3 separate regions of the Homo sapiens genome follow, and all the other regions are linked to region 1. Evidence: promoter capture Hi-C in 16 types of primary human blood cells and fetal thymus (Javierre and others, 2016). All regions are on one chromosome and are shown on one strand. The core of a region is centred on a gene start or on the middle of the fragment in contact, and the rest is flanking DNA. Distances in the headings are between cores, read along the strand shown.

What was found. The method cuts DNA at HindIII sites, captures the fragments that hold promoters and counts their contacts. A CHiCAGO score of 5 or more calls a contact.
Region 2: a fragment that was not itself captured here is called in contact with the fragment with the promoter of HP in region 1 in 1 of 17 cell types (neutrophils); the score reaches 5.5 in neutrophils.
Region 3: a fragment that was not itself captured here is called in contact with the fragment with the promoter of HP in region 1 in 4 of 17 cell types (M1 macrophages, M0 macrophages, M2 macrophages and 1 more); the score reaches 9.3 in M1 macrophages.

Annotation. Positions count from the first base shown.
Region 1 is chr16:72,052,741-72,055,902 of GRCh38, forward strand. It overlaps HP (haptoglobin), which reads left to right and starts at 1,765. Exons shown (of 7, transcript NM_005143.5): 1 at 1,765-1,917. The coding sequence starts at 1,913. The HindIII fragment of the contact is 5,876 bases long and covers 1-3,153 here.
Region 2 is chr16:71,784,946-71,788,284 of GRCh38, forward strand. The region is part of intron 2 of AP1G1 (adaptor related protein complex 1 subunit gamma 1); the gene reads right to left. Among named protein-coding and RNA genes, the nearest start is that of AP1G1, 22 kb to the right of the region's middle. The HindIII fragment of the contact is 2,663 bases long and covers 156-2,818 here.
Region 3 is chr16:72,464,870-72,467,765 of GRCh38, forward strand. All of the region lies in intron 6 of LINC01572 (long intergenic non-protein coding RNA 1572), which reads right to left. All of the region lies in intron 1 of LOC124903718 (a long non-coding RNA gene), which reads left to right. Among named protein-coding and RNA genes, the nearest start is that of LINC01572, 200 kb to the right of the region's middle. The HindIII fragment of the contact is 1,066 bases long and covers 840-1,905 here.

The sequences.
Region 1 (3,162 bases), core at 515-3,014:
GTGCGATCTCAGCTCACTGCAAACTCTGCCTCCCAGGTTCAAGCAATTCTCCTGTCTCAGCCTCCCAAGTAGTAGCTGGGACTGCAGATGCATGCCACCACGCCTGACTAATTTTTGCATTTTTAGAAAATATGGGGTTTCACCATATTCGTATTGGTTAGACTGGTCTCAAACTTCCGGCCTCAGGTGATCCACCCACCTCGGCCTCCCAAGGTGCTGGGATTACAGGTGTGAGTCACTCCCCAGCCTTGAGTATCTTTTATGTGCTTTTTGGCACTTTATGTATATTTTTTGGAGAAATGTCTATTTAAATCCTTTGCCCATGCTTTAATTGTTTGTCTTTTTGTTGTTGTAGTTAGGATATGCTCTGGATAACAACCCTTTATCAGATATAGAATTTGCAAATATTTTCTCCCATTCTGTAGACTGTCTTCACTTTTTTTTTTGAGACAGAGTCTTGTTCTGTCACCCAGGCTGGAGTGCAGTGGTGCGATCTAGGCTCACTGCAACCTCTGCCTCCCAGGTTCAAGCAATTCTCCTGCCTCAGCCTCCGAGTAGCTGGGATTAAAGCATGCGCCACCATGCCTGGCTAATTTTTGTATTTTTAGTAGAGATGGAATTTCACCACATTGGTCAGGCTGGTCTCAAACTCCTGACCTCATGATCCGCCCACCTCAGCCTCCCGAAGTGCTGGGATTACAGGCGTGAGCCACCACGCCTGGCCTGTCTTCATTTTATTAATACTGTCTTTTGATACACAAATGTTCATTCCGATGAAGCCCAATTTATCTAATTTTTCTTTGATTGCTGGTGATTTTGGTGTCATTATCTAAGAATCCATTGCCAAGTTTTACTTGGTTTTGATCTCTAGAAGACTGCCATCATACTGAAGGTAATCTTCTGAAACTTGCGGTTTTCTTTCAAAAATTATGTTTATAAGATGATCCATGTTCTTGCAGAGTTTATTCATTTTATGCTGTATAATATTCCATTATATCCACATACAATGCAGTATTGACCCTTCCTCCTGTTGATGGGCATTTGTCTTGTTTCTAGTTACTTTGCTATTATATCAGTGTCACCATGATTATCCAAAAGTAATTCTTTTGTACACTCTAATTTAAGAACAACTAACCCTTTTTAATGAATAAATCAACCTTGTATTGAGTTGCTACTAAGTTTCAGTTGACTAGTACCTGGGATACACACAGGTGCAGACATTTGACTGAGACATATTGATTTTTCTCATCTGCCTATTTAGGCTAATCACCAGACTATAAAACCATGAGAACCACTGCCATTGAGTATAGTCTGTGTCAGTCTACACTATAGCTTTAACTAGTTGTGTGATTTCTTGCAAAGAGCAATCAGAGAAGACACAATAAACACATTTACTGATTTCAGGCTGGAGAGCTTTTAAGCAATAGGGAGATGGCCACACACAAGGTGGAGAAAATTACTGTGAAAAGGAAGTACTTTCTTTAGAGCCCCACCTAAGCTAGGCTGCAGAAATGTCTACAATGGGTTTGAAAAAACTCAAAATGAGCCTTTCTGCAGTGTGAAAATCCTCCAAGATAAAGAGACAGATTGATGGTTCCTGCCGCCGCCCTGTCCTGCCCAGTTGCTGATTTCAGGAAATACTTTGGCAGGTTTGTGGGTCATAGAGTTGCCAGGTTTCTTGGGATTTGTAATAGAACATCACAAGAAAATCAAGTGTGAAGCAAGAGCTCAACTCTTAACAGGGGTATTGTTTGTGGTTTTGTTACTGGAAAAGATAGTGACCTTACCAGGGCCAAAGTTTGTAGACACAGGAATTACGAAATGGAGAAGGGGGAGAAGTGAGCTAGTGGCAGCATAAAAAGACCAGCAGATGCCCCACAGCACTGCTCTTCCAGAGGCAAGACCAACCAAGATGAGGTGGGTCCACAGCTTTCCCTCCTGCCTTTCCTCTGGTTCTTTATTTCAGTCTTTTTTGCATACATCGGTAGAGATGCAGAAATAGAACAAAGAAACGGGCAAATGGGCTAAATTATAGTGAACCAAAGGGCTTAGTGTGTTAAATCTTCTCCTTTTCTGCATCCATAGAAGACAGTGCTGCTGTCTTTCCCAGGAGATAAGATTTACTCTCAGGAGTGTCTTTTTCCTTCAGGTTACATTTTTGACTTTATAGGGTATGTCATCAGCTCCCGTGGTAGGCTTCCTGGCATCCTGAGTATATTTATTAGCAGATATTTTCCTCTTTAAAAATGTACAATAAGGAAGACTAATAGTAACACATTTGAATGACACAATTAATTGACTAGTACCTGGGATACACACTAATACCTGGGATACATCTAATTAAGGCACTTAGATCTTATAAAAATAAACACTTTTTGAAATGTTGAAATAATAAGACTAGAAACTTTTTTTTTTTTTGAGATGGAGTCTCGCTTTGTCACCAGGCTGCAGTGCAGTGGCATGATCTCGGCTCACTGCAACCTCCACCTCCCAGGTTCAAGTGATTCTCCTGCCTCAGCCTCCCAGGTAGCTGGGACTACAGGCGTGCGCCACTATGCCCACCTAATTTTTGTATTTTTAGTAGAGACGGGCTTTCACCATGTTGGCCAGGATGACCTCGATCTCTTGACCTCGTGATCTGCCTGCCTTGGCCTCCCAAAGTGCTGGGATTACAGGCATGAGCCACCGTGTCTGGCCTAGAAACTATTTTAATAGAAGCAAGTAGTGCCCGAATGGTTGGCATTTGTTAGTGAGATGGTGAACTGGCAGACGGCACCTGTGGGTCAATGCCCATGGCCACCGTCCTGCTTTTGGACACCAGTTCTCTTCCAGGTAACCTTCTGGCATTTTGGGGTTTCAGATACCATTTCCTAAAGGTGAATTATTATAAAATACTAGAAATACCCACGTGTTTAAAATTATATATTTAAGGAACCTTTTATTACGGAAAATATCAAGAAGTAGAGGAATAGCACAGTAAGCCCAAAGTTCCCATCTCTGAGTTATCTACATTTTATTACCACTATCTTTGCGGTGTCTGAGGGAGGTTTCTCTTTCCTGGAGGGCTCCTGTATTATTGCCAATGTACTTTCCTGAATGCAGCCAGAAACTGAGCCCACCCCTCCACCTATGTGCCTTTCTATCCCTCTCTGAAGCTTCTGC
Region 2 (3,339 bases), core at 237-2,736, 270 kb before region 1:
TCTATCAGCACCATACTAGATACTGTAGTAAAAAGTTTTAAAAAGGTGAAATTAGTTTTAATAATATTCTTTAATCAATATATCTAAAATATCATTTCAACGTATGATCAACACAAAAATTATAATTAGGTATTTTACACTTGCTTTTGCACTAAAGCTTCTATATACAGTATGTACTTTACACTTACAGCACATCTCAATTTGTACATTTTCATCAGAAATAGCTAAACTAAAAAGAAAAAAAAAGAAATAGCTGAACTGTATTTAGATTTCATAAAATTTACTATTTATAAAGTAGACTCACATACCCAAGTTGTTTAAAACATATTTAAAAGTCTTCCAATAACTAGGCTGGGTGTGGTGGCTCACACCTGTAATTCCAGCACTTTGGGAGGCCAAGACGGTGGATCATTTGAGGTCAGGAGTTCAAGACTAGTCTGGACAACATGGTGAAACCCTGTCTCTACCAAAAATACAAAAATTAGCCGGGTGTGGTGGCAGGTGCCTGTAGCCCAGCTACTCAGGAGGCTGAGGCAGGAGAATCGCTTGAACCTGGGTAGTGAAGGCTGCAATGAGCCAAGATTGTGCCATTGTACTCCAGCCTGAGTGACAAGAGCGAAACCCTGCCTCAAAAAAAAAAAAAAAAAAAAAAAAGTGGGCTGGGAATGGTGGCTCACGCCTGTAATCCCAGCACTTTGGGAGGCCGAGGCGGGCAGATCACGAGGTCAGATCGAGACCACCCTGGCTAACACAGTGAAATCCCGTCTCTACTAAAAACACAAAAAAATTAGCCAGGCATGGTGGCAGGCGCCTGTAGTCCCAGCTACTAGGGAGGCTGAGGAAGGAGAATGGCGTGAACCCAGGAGGCAGAGTTTGCAGTGAGCTGAGATCACACCATTGCACTCCAGCCTGGGCAACAGGGCGAGACTCCATCTCAAAGAAAAAAAAAAGTGGCTATTATTATACACTAAATGAAAATGGCACTGTGATCATACGTGCAGGTGACAAAATCTAGATATGAACCTTTTAAAGGCATATTATAAAGGTAATTCCAACGGATGGGGTACCAAATTACTGATATGAACAAGATGGTGACTCATTGAAACAGAGGAAACAGAATAAGAACTTAAAATTATGATTCCCAGTCCCATTCAGAAAAATATTTTATGATAAAATTTTAGCACAGTTTTCTCGAGCATTTACTTTCTAAGAATTAAATATTTTATCAAATAATTAAGTCCCAAAATACCCCCAAATGCCACCTAACCTTAAAAGCACATTCTATTTAAACATATTAAAGAAATGAATCTTAGAAAATATAGAGAGATTTTTTACAAAATGAAATATCCCCCAAAGTCTTAAATCTACTCTGATTCCAAATTCAAGAATTTGCCCTTAGTCCAGGGACTGTGGCTTACACCTATAATCACAGCACTTTGGGAGGTTGAGGCCCAAAGATCACTTGAGCCCAGGAGTTCAACACCAACCAGGGAACTGTGGCAGAAATCCAACTCAACAAAAATTTTTTTTTTTTGAGAAAGAGTCTCATTCTGTTGCCAGGCTGGAGTACAGTGGCACGATCTCAGCTCACTGCAACCTGTACCTCCCGGATTCAAACGATTCTCCTGCTTCAGCCTCCTGAGTAGCTGGGACTACAGGCACGCACCACCATGCCCAGCTAATTTTTGTATTTTTAGTAGAGAGGGGGTTCCACCATGTTGGCCAGGATAGCCTCTATCTCTTGACCTCATGATCCACCCACCTCGGCCTCCCAAAGTTCTGGGTGTACAGGCGTGAGCCACCGCACCCAGCCCAAATTTTTTTTTTAATTAGCTGACCGGGCACAATAGTGCACGCCTGTAATCTCAGTACTTTGAGAGGCCAAGACACATGGATTGCTTGAGCTCAAGAGTTCAAAATGAGCCTGAGCAACACAGCAAAGCCCTGTCTCTATAAAAAATACAAAAATTAGCCGGGTGTGGTTCCCAGAAGGTCGAGGCTGCAGTGAGCCCAGTAGAAAGTAAGCCTGAGGTGTCCACTGCACAATCCAGCCTGGGCAACAGAGTGAGATCCCGTCTCAAAAAATTAGCTGGGCCCGGGCACAGTGGCTCACTTCTGTAATCCCAGAACTTTAGGAGGCCGAGACAGACAGATAACGAGGTCAGGAATTCGAGACCAGCCTGGCCAATATGGTAACATTCCGTCTCTACTAAAAATACAAAAATTAGCCGGGTGTGGTGGCACACACCTGTAGTCCCAGCTACTCGGGAGGCTGAGGCAGAAGAATCTTTTGAACCCAGTAGGTGGAGGTTGAAGTGAGCCGAGATCACGCCACTGGACTCCAGCCTGGGCAACACAGCGAGACTCTGTCTCAAAAAAAAAAAAAAAAAAAAAAAAAATTAGCTGGGTGTGGTGCCATGCACCTGCAGTCCCAGTGACTCGAGAGGCTGAGGTAGGAGAACTTGAGCCCAGTAGGTTGAGGTGACAGTGAGCCATCACAGAGCCACAGCATGGGCCATAGAGCAAGACCCTGCCTCTAAAAACAACAAAAAAAGAATATGCTCTTAAAGAACTTCCTTGGGAATATGTAAATGTACTGCTTCCAAAATGTTAATAATGCTTATCGCTGAGGAATTAAGAGTCTTCTCCCTCACTAGACTTTTTTATAGCCCAATTTCTAATATATCAGATTTCTGTAAATCTAACCTAATACTTAAAATCAATCAACCGATCAACAAGAACACGTAGGCATCTATTTGCTTTATACTATGACACACAGTATATGGATAACCACCTGGATCAATTTTTGATGTGGTAAAGCTTATAACTGAAACATCAGAGCCTCAGGGTTTCATTCCACTCCTAACACTCTACGAATGAAATATGAAATATATTTCAAAGAACATATTATATTTTTAGAAACTATTCATGTGAAAGAGAAGAATGCTATTATGACACTAATTCTGTCCCAAACCAAATATATGACTATATTGATGACCCAGCAGTTGCTTCTGCCTGGCTCCTTTTCTTTTGATCCAGTCCCCTTTCCTCTGATACTAACACATCAATTTTTCTTTGGGAAATTAATGGACTCCCACTCTTGATCATGTATTTCTAAAGATGTTGACCCCACTCCAAACCCCAAGATGACCATAAAACCCAAGTCAGTCTGATAAGATTAAATCCCAGTACTTTTTTGTTTTAACTTGGGGGCAGGAGATCTCCTTCCACTGAAATTACTGACCTAAACAGTAAATAAGCTGATGACTATCTTTCCTGATAGTGTTGCACATTCTTTCTTTCAGTTGGGCAGTCTGTTCCTTAGAGAGACTATTTAGC
Region 3 (2,896 bases), core at 123-2,622, 410 kb after region 1:
CAGAGATCACATGACGAGAGAGGAAGCAGAGAAAGCAAGCGGAGTTGGGGTTTGCACCAGGCTATTTTTAACAACCAGCTCTCATGAGAACTAATAGAATGAGAACTCACTTACCCCCTCACCCCCAGGGAGAGGATTATTCTATTCATGAAGGATATGCCCCCATGACCCAAACACCTCCCTTTAAGCCTCGTCTCCAACATTAGAAATCAAATTTCAACATGAGATTTGAAGGGGTCAAACAAACCAAACTATACAGTAATGAAGAGAGCAAGTGTTTGCATTACTAGCATAAGGAGTGCTTTGGAACTGAGTGGAATGTGGACACAATGTCTCTTAAGAGCAGGGATGCTGGTTCTCTGCGTAGGTATAAAATTTTACTCTGGCATGAACACACAAAAAGGCGATCTTTCTTCCTTTATACATGTGTAACTCTTAATGATGACCAGAACAAATACTAGCATTGTCACTTTACTAAATTGCAGTGTAGGTATTTACAGTCTACACTTGCATGCAATTTCAGCTTCTGAATATAACATTAGTGATTCTAATTTTATTTTATTTGCAGCTGAAATGACTTGTGTGCAATATACATGATTGGTGACCTTACTAGAATGTCCTAAAACATGCTGTGCCAGAGATAAGTTTAGTTGCCACAAGGCAACTGAAGTTGAATTTTTAGGTCATAATATGCCTGAAAAAAAGGGTTGTATCATCTTTAGTGTTAAAGATATTTAAGGCATTTTATTATTATGAGCCATATACCCATCTGAACAACAAAGATGCCTTGAGTGTTCAAGTCAATCCATAGTTTGGAAGGCCTTGGATAAGGTTCTTTAAGCTTTTCTGTGCCCAGCCCCTGCAGACTGATTAAGCCATATGCAGATTATCTTTCTCCATAAGCATTTATTTCATGAACTTAAGGAAAAAGCCAAAGTGAAAATTAAGGTTTATATCAGGGCCAAGACTGGGATGAGGTAAGAGAAACGCCTATGGTGTAAAATTTAAGGAGGCTCTCAATCCCAGGGTCATGTAAGTGCTAGGTTGACACCAGAAAGTGGGTACCTCCTTAAATTTTGCTATATAAGCACCTTCCTAGCCTCACCCTAGTCCTGGCCTTGGATTTTATTGTCAAAGGTCTTTCAGAGTCAAGGCTGTGCTATTTCAGATGCACATCTTTTTGTTGTTGTTGCTCAAAAGCTAACAAAAATCAAGTACATAATTTTTAAACTTTATATCAAAAAAGTACTGTAAAAAAATGAAATACGTAGAGGAGCAATATTAATAGAGATCTCAGCTAAATCTGAATAACAACTAATAGCATACCTGTTGGTACTATTTGCTGTGTGCAATTATATATATATTTATATATAAACACACAGACACACACATACACGCACACATATAAAATCTCCTTCAGTCCTCAACTCTGAGTTAAAGTATAATTATCATTATTATTCCCATTTATACAGGTAGGGAAATTAAGGCTTATAGATGTCAAATAAAAAATTGCTCACTGTCGCATAGCGAGTAGGAACTCAAGCTGATCTAACTCAAAACCCTAATCTCTAACTGCTATGCTTTGCTGCCTTCTAAATATTATCATTCAATATTGGTGATCTGTTGATTGTATCTCTACTATAGGCAGGCATGTACATGCTAATTGCTTATGTAAATTTAGCATTTTTCTTGTCAGAAAAACTGGTTAATAAGCCTTAGAGTACTCTCATTTTTGCAGCCTTATAGCATGGTGGACTAAGAAAGGGAAAATGAATGTAAGAAAAAGAAAAGAAAGAAGGAAAAAACAAAAGATTGCAAGAGAAAATGCATGATTTAGAGATCATATCCCTTTTGTGAACCAGGATAAAATAATAAGCATGAGGATGAGATTAGTATATGCAAAGAAGCTTCTTTAAAGCAAACCCAAAAGAAAAAGGAGGTCTCATTTATAGTGGAGCAAAAGAAAGAAAAAAAGGTTTATTAGAGGACAAAAAATGTTACTTTGGTTTTAATTTCAGCTTTTTCAAATTAAAAAAAATTAAAATAGACTTCTTTTTTCAGAAACAAAGTATCAGAACTTGTTACTTTTTCTATCTGCTGTAGAAAATACTGATATAAACCAAAACATAGGGTGAACAACGTTACAGTACTTAATTTTAAAAACAAGTTAAAGTAATAAGTGTTATTCAATTCATATAGCAAGAAGAAACACTTATGTAGAAGTAACTAAGATTATTAATGTCTAAGAAATACATGTTTCACGAACAATTTTAAGAATATGTTTTAAGAGACATAGTATTATTGGCCATGATTGTGATGTTCCAGTTTTTTTGGGAAGAGTAGATACTATAAAAGGTTAAATGCCATTTTTTCACCCCGTACCTGCCCGAACCTCTGAGCTCCTCAAACCCTTACCTCCATCACTAAGCCAAGCTCTGATACCAGTAAGAAAGTCCCTATCTTGCAACCTGCTAAAGAGTGCCCTCTTGTGTTGCATGCACATGAAATAACCTTTTTTTTTTCTTTTTTCATGAAGTGTTCTGCTTACACTGAACCTTAGGTTTTCTTTGGCATTGCAGCCAAGAAAGATAAAAGATAAATGATGCTTTAGAACAATTTTCTGGCTTTTAATGCCAGCTAAGTAAAACTATACCCCTATATTAAAGAGTTATAGGTTTTCTTTAAAAAACTTTTATAAAATAAGGTATATCCACTTCAAAAAATAATGTGCCTTTTGTTCAAAGGCTAGTTTTTAAAGAAAACAGTTTGCATAAAATGTTAGTACACTGCTAACGTTAGAATGTACTAAGAATTTTAGTACTTAGAAAAACAGGAATTTGTTCTATCAGAAAAAAATAGCAGTGACAATAATTTGCTTCTCTCAACCTCTGGAAAC